Regions from separate parts of the Homo sapiens genome. Here region 2 is linked to region 1. The links are contacts of gene promoters, found by promoter capture Hi-C in blood cells and fetal thymus (Javierre and others, 2016). All regions are on one chromosome and are shown on one strand. The core of a region is centred on a gene start or on the middle of the fragment in contact, and the rest is flanking DNA. Distances in the headings are between cores, read along the strand shown. Region 1 holds the start of SALL2 (spalt like transcription factor 2). Region 2 overlaps CHD8 (chromodomain helicase DNA binding protein 8).

Evidence for each region. The method cuts DNA at HindIII sites, captures the fragments that hold promoters and counts their contacts. A CHiCAGO score of 5 or more calls a contact.
Region 2: a contact is called between a fragment that was not itself captured here and the fragment with the promoter of SALL2 in region 1, in 1 of 17 cell types (fetal thymus). The highest score is 5.2, in fetal thymus.

What each region holds. Positions count from the first base shown.
Region 1 is chr14:21,523,423-21,530,204 of GRCh38, reverse strand. SALL2 (spalt like transcription factor 2) reads left to right here and starts at 3,859. Exons shown (of 2, transcript NM_001364564.1): 1 at 3,859-4,144; 2 at 4,551-6,782. The coding sequence starts at 4,078. RefSeq lists enhancers at 2,613-3,440, 3,441-4,268, 5,099-5,926 and silencers at 3,922-3,981, 6,442-6,628. The HindIII fragment of the contact is 14,095 bases long and covers 1,540-6,782 here.
Region 2 is chr14:21,429,474-21,436,255 of GRCh38, reverse strand. CHD8 (chromodomain helicase DNA binding protein 8) reads left to right here. Exons shown (of 38, transcript NM_001170629.2): 2 at 4,398-5,455. The coding sequence starts at 4,613. It also overlaps the pseudogene RN7SL650P. Among named protein-coding and RNA genes, the nearest start is that of CHD8, 23 kb to the left of the region's middle. The HindIII fragment of the contact is 1,326 bases long and covers 1,689-3,014 here.

The sequences.
Region 1 (6,782 bases), core at 2,610-5,109:
AAAGAAATGCAATCACTTAAACTTACAGTAAGGTGTAAATTATATCAAATTCTATTCATGGAAGCAGATTTTTCACTGGGAAAGGATACAAGGAAGTTAATGTGTGGTTGTGGGCACTGTAGGGAGGGGACCTGATGGGAAGATTTAGCATTGAGAGTTCATTTTGTCTGTGTCCCAATTGTGGCCAAGTTTAGCTCAGGTAAGATCTGTGAGGAGCAGGGTGGAAGGTATGATGGAAAGGGCAGTCCTCCATGTGGGTCTCATCATTGTGTCACCATCTTTGTATTCTCATTGGAATCACCTGAGGAGCTTTATCAAACTAATGCCTGGATCCTATCCTCAGGGATTATGAATTAATTAGCCTGGGATGTGGCCTGGACACAGGGATTTTTTTTAAGTTTGGTTGGTTGGTTGCTTTTGCAGAGATGGGGGTCTCACTATGTTATGCAGGCTGGTCTCAAATTCCTGGCCTCAAGCAATCCTCCTGCCTTGGCCTCCAAAAGTGCTAGGATTATAGGCATGAGGTACCCACTGTGCTTAAACTTTCTTTTCTTTTTTTTTTCTTCTTTTTTTTGAGATTTTGAGATGGAGTCTCAAACCCTTGAGCTCAAGTGATCCTCCCGCCTCAGCCTCCAGAGTAGCTGGGACTACAAGGAACAGACCACTGCACCTAAACATAAAAATTTTAAAACTCTCTTCTGGTAATCCTAATGGGCAGCAAAATTTGAAAACCGCTGTTCAAATGTATCACCCTGCTACATACAACTCACCTATTTTTCTCTTTGTTCTCCCGAACAGTTCTCTCTGAAGCCTAAAGAAGCAATCTGATGGGACACTAGATTTAGAAGGGAAGCCACCTGGTTTCCCTTTTCTTTGTCATTTCAGCTCTCTATAAGTTTAAACAAGCTTGTCCAGGTCTTAGTCCCACCCCGGACTTTGCATTTGACCGGAGATAGCTTACCTCACCTTATCTGCTATCTAGGGACACCATTACCAGTTTAGTTTATTCCTGCATTTGTGACTTCATTCATGTTTGTGTAAGAATCCTGCCCCCCTTTTCAGGATGTGCAGTGAGTGCAAAGTACTGAGAAATGGAGGGTTCCTCTTACAGGTGGCTGTTGATCCAGTCACCTTTCACCAGGGACTAAATTTACCTTAAAGAAGAGCTTAGATCAAATTACGCATCAGAAAGCACATTTCATTAAAGAGCAAGAAAGGGGACAGTGTTTCCCAGGAGAAGATGAAAAGAAAAGGATTTCTTTTCTTGTCAGAAGACTTGACAAAACAGCAACTGGATATCAAATGTTCAATGCTAATTAACAAATGCTCAGTAGAAAGCCTCCATCTGATTCCCTCTCCCTGACTAAGGCCAGGGAGCAAATGGCAGGTAGAAGCCACACAGGGCCCTTTCTCTAGCATTAGGGAAGCCATACAAAGTTGATGTGCTTGAGAAAGCATTGGACAGGAGTCAAAATTCTGAATGCTTGCTTCACTGAATTACTGTGTGAACTTGGAAAAGTCACTTAACCTCTCCAAGCTTCAGTTTCCTTATCTGTAAAAATAAACCACATTGCACAAAACTGTGACTTGCCATAAACTGAAATAGAACCCCCCTCCCTCATTTGTAAGTCCAGGCCTGGAAGCACAGAACCCGTCCATTTCAGAATTATGACTCACAATGCTAAGAGCCTTATTATCTGAAGTTTCAAAACATAATTCAGTAAACTGTTTTAAGTTTAAAAACACAGGCAAAATTTATGTTGAGAAGTAAAGTGGATGTTACTAATATTTTAAATAGGTTGTTTCAGCTCCCCCACCCACTGCAATAAAAGACTTCCTACCTTTGAAATATGCTGCTGATATTAGCCAATATCTTACCTCAGAAATTAATAAGATTAACAAACAACATGGAAAACAGATCTAATTTTAGTATATGTGTATTTAAGGTTACTTCGATTATTTTGCTACTGACAATGTAAATTATCTCATTGATTAAATTCAGGACTCCCCAAACTTTAAAAATCTCACATGTACATATTAATTTTTTTAGACTTTTTTTTTTTTTTGAGACGCAGTTTCACTCTTGTTGCCCAGGCTGGAGTGCAATGCCACGATCTCAGCCCCCTGCAACCTCCACCTCCTGGGTTCAAGCCATTCTCCTGGCTCAGCTGCCCCAGTAGCTGGGATTAAAGGTGTACCATCATGCCCAGCTAATTTTTGTATTTTTAGTAGAGACGGGGTTTCAACATGTTGGCCATGCTGGTCTGGAACTTCTGACCTCGTGATCTGCCCACCTCCCAAAGTGCTGGGATTACAGTGAGCCACCGCGCCCGGCTTTTTTTTTTTTTTAAAGTAATGGGGCCTCACTATGTTGCCGAAGCTGGAGGGCAGTGGTTATTCACAGGTGTGATCACAGCTCACTGCAGCCTCAAACTCCTGGACTAAAGCAATTCTCCTGCCTCAGCCTCCCAAGTAGCTGGGGCTACAAGTGTGCACCACCATACCTGGTTTACACATTAATATTGTCCAATTTTTCAATTTTTTGTCCCCACAATATTTTTCTGAGTAAAATACTGCAGCTACAATATTACCACTTTATGAAGAGGGAAACGGTGGTATAACATGGTGTGACTGACCACCATGTCTCAGTTTTATCAGTGAGGCAAGAATAGAACTGGGATTAAAACAATTTAGGTTTACTGATGCCCAGGGAAACCACAAAACCAAGGACTTGTGGTCACTTCCTGCATGTAAGAGAAAGTATTTTAGGAAGTGGGAAGCACTTTAAGACTCATTTCAAGGTAAAAAAGAGAATGCCAGAATACCTGGTCCAGGAGGCATTTTATTCTTACTTATCCTGTCTGAATAGGAGGCTGCCTCTGTGATGGTGAGCAGGTGTTAGCTATTTCTAAGCATTCAAATCAGGCTGGGGCTGAAAGGGCTTTAGACACTGAGGGCTGCCTGGTAGTTCCTACCGCATTGTTTCAAGAGGGCTCCCCTCCCCCCCAGGTTAGAGCTGGGTGGGCCTCCGTAGGCCTCTGCAGGCTAGCGTCTCCCCAAACCCACTGTCTTTAATAGTGACGGTGTGAGGAATGTTGCAAGAGGAGAATAGAGGAGGAAGAGGGTACTAAATAGGAGATGGCTTATTAAATAAGCATGGACTCTATGAATTAGGTGTTGTGTAGGCTGGGCGATCTGCGGAGTAACCTGCATTCAGCTATTATTCAGGGGGAGGAGGGGCGGGGAGTGAAGGGGCTTAGTGTTCCGCAGAGAGTCCTGAAATGACTTCCTGGGAAATTCTACCTTGCAGCCGCCCACCCTGAGAAACTTCTTTTGTGGAGAGGGATGGGGGTAGGGTGGGAATGGAAGTGAGAAAGACGAGACAAAACTTCGAATATTTTGGGGTGTGTGTGCTGGTGAGGAGTGGATGTTCTGATCTCCCCCTCTTCTTCTGGCCCTCAGACCTCTGAGGAGATCAGACGACCCTCTCTGGAATCCACTTTTTCCAAGCTCAGCGGATCCTTTATCCAAAGAAAAATAAGAGAAGCCTATCGCCTTGCTCCACTGAGCAGGGCTACGTTTCCCACTGTGCCCCTAGAGCTTAGGAGGGGAGGGCGGGGGGAGGAGGGTAGGCCTGGGCAAAGGCATCTGCAGATGGGGGGAGCTGGCCAGGGACCGGGAAAGGTGGACCCCCGCAGTGCTTCACAGCACCTGTCACTGCGCCTCCGGAAACTCTCCCGAGCTCTGAGCTCCCGCCCCCACGCCCCCGCTAGCGCTCCCTTCTCCCGCCTCCTCTAGCTCCCGCCTCCCTCCCCAGCAGCTCCTCCCCATAAACTCCCCTCCTCATCAGCTCCTCCCAGATCTCCCCTCTCCCCGCTTTCTCACTCCAGCTTCTCCCCGCCTCCTCGCTCCCCTCCCCCTCCGCCGCTGCTCCCTGCCCCCGCCGCTGCCGATCTCCATCTCCGCAGTCTGGGCCGCTGGGTGCAGAGGCTGCCGCAGACCCAGCGGCCATCGCCTCCCTCAATCCCAATATCCATTGTCTCCCACCCCACCTGGCCCTCCACTTCCCCCACAACCATGGCGCACGAATCCGAGAGGAGCTCTCGTCTCGGGGTGCCCTGCGGGGAGCCGGCAGAGCTCGGAGGTGCGGTAGGGTCGGTCGGGCTGGGCAGGGGTGGGGGCGGAGGGGGATGCGCAGGGGCGGCGAAGACTTTCGGTGGGTGGGAGAAAATGCATGATTCTCTGCGTAGGCCCCTGTCCCCACACCTATTCCGTGAACTCGCTTGTGGCCTGGGGAAGGGAGGGTGGCTGAGGAGGGGAGTAGCATGCTCTTGCCCCCCTCCCCTCCTCCCTCCCCACCCCCCTGCCCCATGCCGGGTTGTCTCCTGTCCACACGGATCAGGCCTGAGCTCTAGACTTCTGCATGGCCCTGATGGTGAGCTCATCTCCCCACCCCCAACTAGCGGTTACTGGCCTCCTTGTTAATTAGAGCCTCGGTATACCCAACCCAACTGCGCCACCCACGCTCTCTCTCCTTGTCTTCTCCCCAGGTGATGCTAGCGAGGAGGATCACCCCCAAGTCTGTGCCAAGTGCTGCGCACAATTCACTGACCCAACTGAATTCCTCGCCCACCAGAACGCATGTTCTACTGACCCTCCTGTAATGGTGATAATTGGGGGCCAGGAGAACCCCAACAACTCTTCGGCCTCCTCTGAACCCCGGCCTGAGGGTCACAATAATCCTCAGGTCATGGACACAGAGCATAGCAACCCCCCAGATTCTGGGTCCTCCGTGCCCACGGATCCCACCTGGGGCCCAGAGAGGAGAGGAGAGGAGTCTTCAGGGCATTTCCTGGTCGCTGCCACAGGTACAGCGGCTGGGGGAGGCGGGGGCCTGATCTTGGCCAGTCCCAAGCTGGGAGCAACCCCATTACCTCCAGAATCGACCCCTGCACCCCCTCCTCCTCCACCACCCCCTCCGCCCCCAGGGGTAGGCAGTGGCCACTTGAATATCCCCCTGATCTTGGAAGAGCTACGGGTGCTGCAGCAGCGGCAGATCCATCAGATGCAGATGACTGAGCAAATCTGCAGGCAGGTGCTGTTGCTTGGCTCCTTAGGCCAGACGGTGGGTGCCCCTGCCAGTCCCTCAGAGCTACCTGGGACAGGGACTGCCTCTTCCACCAAGCCCCTACTACCCCTCTTCAGCCCCATCAAGCCTGTCCAAACCAGCAAGACACTGGCATCTTCCTCCTCCTCCTCCTCTTCCTCTTCAGGGGCAGAAACGCCCAAGCAGGCCTTCTTCCACCTTTACCACCCACTGGGGTCACAGCATCCTTTCTCTGCTGGAGGGGTTGGGCGAAGCCACAAACCCACCCCTGCCCCTTCCCCAGCCTTGCCAGGCAGCACAGATCAGCTGATTGCCTCGCCTCATCTGGCATTCCCAAGCACCACGGGACTACTGGCAGCACAGTGTCTTGGGGCAGCCCGAGGCCTTGAGGCCACTGCCTCCCCAGGGCTCCTGAAGCCAAAGAATGGAAGTGGTGAGCTGAGCTACGGAGAAGTGATGGGTCCCTTGGAGAAGCCTGGTGGAAGGCACAAATGCCGCTTCTGTGCCAAAGTATTTGGCAGTGACAGTGCCCTGCAGATCCACCTTCGTTCCCACACGGGTGAGAGGCCCTATAAGTGCAATGTCTGTGGAAACCGTTTTACCACCCGTGGCAACCTCAAAGTGCATTTCCACCGGCATCGTGAGAAGTACCCACATGTGCAGATGAACCCACACCCAGTACCAGAGCACCTAGACTATGTCATTACCAGCAGTGGCTTGCCTTATGGTATGTCCGTGCCACCAGAGAAGGCCGAGGAGGAGGCAGCCACTCCAGGTGGAGGGGTTGAGCGCAAGCCTCTGGTGGCCTCCACAACAGCACTCAGTGCCACAGAGAGCCTGACTCTGCTCTCCACCAGTGCAGGCACAGCCACGGCTCCAGGACTCCCTGCTTTCAATAAGTTTGTGCTCATGAAAGCAGTGGAACCCAAGAATAAAGCTGATGAAAACACCCCCCCAGGGAGTGAGGGCTCAGCCATCAGTGGAGTGGCAGAAAGTAGCACGGCAACTCGCATGCAACTAAGTAAGTTGGTGACTTCACTACCAAGCTGGGCACTGCTTACCAACCACTTCAAGTCCACTGGCAGCTTCCCCTTCCCCTATGTGCTAGAGCCCTTGGGGGCCTCACCCTCTGAGACATCAAAGCTGCAGCAACTGGTAGAAAAGATTGACCGGCAAGGAGCTGTGGCGGTGACCTCAGCTGCCTCAGGAGCCCCCACCACCTCTGCCCCTGCACCTTCATCCTCAGCCTCTTCTGGACCTAACCAGTGTGTCATCTGTCTCCGAGTGCTTAGCTGTCCTCGGGCCCTACGCCTTCATTATGGCCAACATGGAGGTGAGAGGCCCTTCAAATGCAAAGTGTGTGGCAGAGCCTTCTCCACCAGGGGTAATCTGCGTGCACATTTCGTGGGCCACAAGGCCAGTCCAGCTGCCCGGGCACAGAATTCCTGCCCCATCTGCCAGAAGAAGTTCACCAATGCTGTCACTCTGCAGCAGCATGTCCGGATGCACCTGGGGGGCCAGATCCCCAACGGTGGTACTGCACTCCCTGAAGGTGGAGGAGCTGCTCAGGAGAATGGCTCCGAGCAATCTACAGTCTCCGGGGCACGGAGTTTCCCCCAGCAGCAGTCCCAGCAGCCATCACCGGAAGAGGAGTTGTCTGAGGAGGAGGAAGAGG
Region 2 (6,782 bases), core at 1,102-3,601, 92 kb after region 1:
CTGCAACTGATCTTCTTGAAAGGATACAGTTTCCAACAACAAGATTTGTTCTTTGAAGTAAATAAAATAGTTTATTCTTTTCTGAACCTTTGAGCAGCTAGAGGTTAAGTGGTCATGAGTGGTACTTTCTAAAAGTGCACATTACAGAAAGAGGTCAGCATGGCTCAATACTGCATTCGTTCATTGTCTTCTAAGAGGTTGTCACTACGGAGAAATCTATAAGTGGGCAATAGATATCTGTAGCTCATTTTACATAATTTTATCTATTAGACGACAGAACTAATCTCTTGCAGTGTTTCTCATCCATCATAAACAGTAAATGATGATAAACTCCTTTTGAGAGGCTATAGGAAATCTTATCCCATCCCAAAGATACTGGTAACTCTGCCAAGCCAGGAATGTTTCTTTCTCTGCCCTCTACTCCTCACGTGTCTTTTACAGATCTTCACTGGCCAAGAAGGCTTTGTCCAGTGTTAATAAATATAAATAGCCTAAACAATGAGATGTAGTTTTTTCACTTGATAAATATAAAATTATAATATTGAATACACCTTTAAGAACTGCACATTTATCTCCACCCTCGGTTCCCAGAAGCCCTTCTTAAGGGCCTTAGTCTCCATCCCCTGGTTGAGAATCACTGCTTTGTTGAAAGGTATGGAGAGATTGAGATGGAAAAATATAGGGTAGAATTAAAACAAAATACTTTATCATAGGACAGACAGTTTATTATAGAAATGGGCAAGGGTGAGGAATAATGTCAAATAAGAATGAGAGAGTTGGGACTCTAGATTTCCAAAAAAATCAAGAACTGTATTAAAGGTGGTAAAGCTGCAGAAGAACATCAGTTTGTACTTGTCTCAAGGGGAAGCAGTAGTTTCACCTTTAAGAAGGAGATGAAGTGAAGGGCTATACTGGCATATATAATAAAGTATTTTTCTACAGGTAACTGTATTGTTACTTGGCGATTATAGATAGATGGGCTTGGATTTTAACCTTAACTGACTAGTTTGTTACTTTTCCCTTCCACTGCCATCCCTCACCCCCTACATGCCCTCCAAGATTTCTGTCATGATTCTGGTCATTAGTTTGTAATTATGGAAAGTGACTAAGTACAACCACTAAGTTTTGTCTTTCCTTTTGAGCACATACATGTGTTTCTCTTTTGGGGACTGGTGGGCCAACACTGGCTTTTCATTCTTAATATGATAAAAGTTGGTGTGACTTCTTTATCTAGGCAGTTACTTTGCATTGAAACCAACTTAACATCTGTTCATTTTTGCTATTAGGGTTTGAATCAAGGAAAGAGAATTCATGAGATGGTTGAGAGGATTCATGAGATAGATGAGCTTGGTAGAATAAATAGGCCGTATGTGGATATAGCCAGGGTGACCCACAAGTAGTAGTAGAAGGAGGGTTAAAAAAAGTTAGATGTATGTTGGGAGAAGGTTTAATCTTGTAAGAGTCAAGGACAGTTTAAAGATAGGAACTAGAAAAGAAGTAGGAAACTAGCATAAAAATATGAGATGAATTGGGTCAGTATAGGTGAGAATGATGGGACTGAGAAGTAATGATACTTGGTGGCAAGGTTTTTGAATTATTAGGCATAGACCGAACTAGAAGAAGCAGAAATTTGGTTCGAAAATTGGGAAGGGAGAGATAAATGACAATGCATTGATCTTTAAAAAGCTTATACTAAGTCATATGGGGGTAAGGAGATTCATCAGAAACCATCAGCCTTGTTTCTCCTATTTAAAAAAAAAAAAATCTGGGCCTAAGATTGGATCATTATGGGGGAAAGGAAGAGCATTAGAATTAACAAATAGCAAGGAATCATGGAAGCGACAAAATACTCCATGGAATAAGGAGCAGGCTATAAACTATTTGCAACGTAAACTTCTGGTTAGTAGAAACTTTCAGCGTGGTGGCTCATGCCTATAATCCCAGCACTTTGGGAGGCTGAGGCGACGGCTCACCTCTGAAGTCGAGAGTCCGAGACCAGTCTGACTAACGTGGCGAAAACCTGTCTCTACTAAAAATACAAAATTAGCCGAGTGTGGTGGCGCAGGCCTGTAATCCCAGCTATTCGGGAGGCTGAGGCAGGAGAATCGCTTGAACCCAGGAGGTAGAGGTTGCGGTGAGCCGAGATCGCGCCATTGCACTCCAGCCTGGGCGACAAGAGTGAAACTCTGTCTCAGAAAAAAAAAAAAAAAAAAAAAGAAACTTTCACTGTTGTTTTTATATTACTCCTAGCTGTAGATACTTTAACTTCTGACGGTGAGTAGAGAATGAAAAATAATTGGTGCCAAAGTAGGTATACTGGAAAAAAGCTGATGATAATGGGAAGGAAATTTATTAATATCAAGTTATTGAGTAGGTTTTCGTTAAATCAGGAAGCATTCATAACTTTCCTGATTGCCATTTTGAGTAATTTGGAGGCAAATATTAGATATGAGAGGCTGGAATGAGCTGGTGGAATAGGCTAGCCAGGAATGGGAGATGGTATGGATCTTGGGTTGAGATATGAAAAGTATGCAATTACTGAAGCAAGGACGATCTTGTTTAACATTGTTGGAGATACCATGTATACTTTGTAATTTTGACTCACGTGTTTGTTCTCTTTGTCTGTTTTGGAGTATCTGATATATTAACCCATATTATATTGTTTTATAAGGATAAGTGAGATGGGTTGGGAAGGAAAAAACATAGCATGGGGGTTATATGGAAAAGTCTCCTTCAGTCAGGACTGTGCCTCTGACAAATTTCTTATCTGGTGTCTTCCAAAAGTTAGGAGAAATGGTCTTACCAAGCAAGACTTTCCTGTATTGTCAAATACTGTCATCATATACAAAGAACAGATATTTCTTTTTCATATATTTGGGTTTTATGGTGATATACTTCCCTGTCTTTGATAGCTTTTCTTTTTTCCACTAGTTTCATGAACTTAAAACCCTAGACATGGATTTTGTGAACCTACTTTCAGCCATTCATAAGACATGTTTTCAAGATAGGAAGCTTTTTACCATCTCATGTTAGAATCAAAGGATACCATTTAGTTTCTGTGAGGATCGAATGGTTTACTCCAGATAATGCGAGCAAGTATAATTCATTAACTGTTTTTTGATTAGCTACTATATGTGCTATGTCCTGCTGGTTCTTAGGGGATCCACAGATAAATAAAACATAGTCCCCACCATCCAAGAACTTTCTCCCAGAGAAAGAGGAGCTGGGCCATGGTACAGAGTTGTGGAGGGTGTACATTGCATACATTCATAACAAATTTTTATATATTTAGTATGGCAGTTTTCCAGGCATCTTGAGAAGTGGGCAACTTTTTACAATTTGCGCAAAGGAACCATTTGGGCCTTCAGAGGATATATTACAGACTTAGGTCATTATAATAAAATATTAAATATAAGTGTTTTAAGGTATAAACAATGGTGTGGGTATTTAAAGGAGGTGGAGGGATCAAGTCATCACAAGTTGCTCAGTTGTTAAAGCGTCAGAGGTTCAGGGCTCACTTAATGGAGTAGAAGACCTTTGAGGGTTGGTAGGATTTTAGCTGCGAGAGATTATTGGCATTGGGATGGAGAGGACGTGTTCCAGGCAGAAAGCACAGCATCATAAGCAAAGTCACACAGGTAGGAATCACATTAAGGGAATTGTGTAGTCTAGTTGGACTGGAATGTAAAATATATGTAAGAGATGGTAAGAGGAAGTTGGGAATATAAATTGGAAACAATGTTGAATCCCTTGCAATTGACCTTTTTTATCTTAAATATGAGAAAGTTTTCTTGAGAGGGGACTTCAGAACAAAAATCCCATTATAGATTAATATGTTAACTAGAATAAAGGTTGCAAAACTTCCTGGGTAAAATTGTATGATCACTTTGGTGAGATTGTACTATAAGCCTTGGTTAAAGGTGGTTATTTTTGCCAATAGTAAGTAAAAATATATAAAACACAAGAAAAATTTATACAATAGAATATATCCAGAAACCTTTATCTATAGAGTCACTGTAATTCTGGTGGCATATTTTTGAGTTCTACTAACTTAAAAACTGAAAATAGAAGGTAAATGAATATTAAATTTTATCTTTACCAAAGAATAATAATTGTTAAAAGAAACGGAGAAAGACAGCCAAATGCTCTTGACAGAGTCTTTAAAGTTTGTAGGTGTAAGTGCCCAAGAGGAGGTTGTTATTGTTTTTCTCTTTTAGTTTTAGTTTTGAAGCAGAAATATGAGTGTCTTTCTGCTGTATGTCCGTCCTCAGATTTCCTCACATTTCCCTCTTATATTCATGCTATTTGATATTAAGAACAGTACGTAAGAAGGGAAAATTTTCTCTGAGATCGCCAACTTTGCCTATTTTTCATTTGTATTTGTATTCCTACAACAGGAGTTCCACCATCTTCCTCTGAAGACGTAGCCATCTTGCTCCATGAAGGTCAGGACAATCTGACATGCACTTGTTTCTTGCCTCTATACTTGAAGAGTAGTCCTCTTACATTGTGTACATTTTTTTCTTAATAGGGGAGGGGAGGGGAGAGCCAGTACCCCCCCTCCCCTTCCCTCCCTAGACCTTGGAGAAGTACCCTCCATTACTTTCCCAAGATGGCAGACCCCATCATGGATCTGTTCGATGACCCAAATTTATTTGGCCTGGACTCTCTGACTGATGACAGCTTTAACCAGGTCACACAAGACCCCATTGAGGAAGCCCTTGGACTGCCAAGCTCTCTGGACTCCTTGGATCAGATGAACCAGGATGGTGGAGGTGGTGATGTGGGGAATTCATCAGCAAGTGAACTGGTCCCTCCACCAGAGGAAACAGCTCCCACAGAACTTTCCAAAGAATCCACAGCTCCAGCTCCAGAATCCATAACCTTGCATGATTATACCACTCAGCCTGCCAGCCAGGAGCAGCCAGCCCAACCTGTCTTACAGACATCGACGCCAACATCAGGACTTTTGCAAGTCTCCAAGAGCCAGGAGATCCTGAGCCAAGGGAATCCTTTCATGGGTGTCTCTGCCACAGCTGTCTCCTCCAGTAGTGCTGGAGGGCAGCCACCTCAGTCAGCCCCTAAGATTGTTATCCTTAAGGCCCCACCAAGCTCCTCAGTCACTGGTGCCCATGTGGCACAAATTCAGGCCCAAGGTATCACCAGCACAGCTCAGCCCCTGGTGGCAGGCACAGCCAATGGTGGAAAAGTCACTTTTACCAAAGTGCTAACCGGCACACCCCTTCGACCAGGTGTTTCCATTGTCTCTGGTAATACAGTGTTGGCCGCCAAGGTCCCTGGGAACCAGGCTGCTGTTCAGCGCATTGTCCAGCCCAGCCGACCAGTAAAGCAGCTGGTCCTCCAGCCAGTTAAGGGTTCAGCTCCTGCTGGAAACCCTGGGGCCACAGGGCCCCCACTGAAGCCTGCAGTTACACTGACCTCTACACCTACCCAGGTGACTTGAGTGAAAGGGGGAGGTGAATTTTGGTTTCATAGAGGGCCCAGCAACTCTTTGAGAGAGTGAGCACATGAGAGCTTTCTCTGGGAAAGCCTATTTAAATTCCATCTTTGGTTTTTATCAGTTAGTGTGACAGCCACATACTTAGTACTTGCTGGTTGGAAGCAGTTAATGTTAACATATTTTTTGAGCTCTTACTACACATTTACATTGTACCTAGCTGGTGCTAAATAAGGCAAACACAGTCCCTGTCCTTACAGAGCTCACCGTCTGCCAGGAAAGACAGATATTAAGCAAGAGTTCACAATAATTGTGTGATACAAAGTTTTATGAGAAGTATGGGATGCTATGGGAACAAAGAAACATCTTTGAAGAATTATCTTTATATTTGCAAGACTTGTAAAAGCTATTTATATCTTTCTTTTATTCTTATTACTAAGATTGTCCCCCTCCTACTTTGCTCAGTGAAAGTGTTAGTTTCTAGCGTAAGAAGGTAGAGGCTCTAGCATCTGAATAAAGGGCCAAAAGAGTTGGTGGGGGTGGGGGCGCAGCATTGAGATAATTAGGACTAGCCAGGCACAATGTCTCTCACCTGTGATCCCAGCTACTCAGGAGGCTGAGGCAGGAGGATTGCTTGAGGCCAGAAGTTCAAGACCAGCCTGGGCAACATAGTGAGACCCTTGTCTCTAAAAAAAGTAGGACTAGTGGGAAGAAGCTACAAGGAGGCAGATTTCAATTCAATATAAGGAATTTTGTATTATTAGGTTTCCAAAAATGAACTGCTGCATTAGAAGATAGCCTTCCATCAGGAGTTTTTAAAACATAGCTTGATACCTACTGAGCAGAAGCATTATAGAAAAGATTCTATCAGGACAGCTGATAGTCCCAGCACTTTGGGAGGCTGAGGCCAGAGGATCGCTTGAGGCCAGGAGTTCGAGACCAGCCTGGGAAACATAGACCTCATCTCTACAAAAAAGCAAAATAAAAATTAGCTGGGCATGGTGGCATGCACCTATAGTACCAGCTACTCAGGAGGCTGAAGCGGGAGGATCACTTGAGCCTAGGAGTTCTGGGCTGTGGTGTGCTATGCCAATCAGGTGTCTGCACTAAGTTTGACATCAATATGGTGACCTCCCAGGAGCAAGGGACCACCAGGTTGCCTAAGGAGGGATGAATTGGCCCAGGTTGGAAACGGAGCAGGGCAGCACTCCCTTGCTGATCAGCAGTAGTGTTGTGCCTGTGAATAGCCACTGCACTCTAGCCTGGGCAATACAGCGAGACCCTGTCTAAAAATAACAAAAAAGATTGCATCAAGACAGATAGG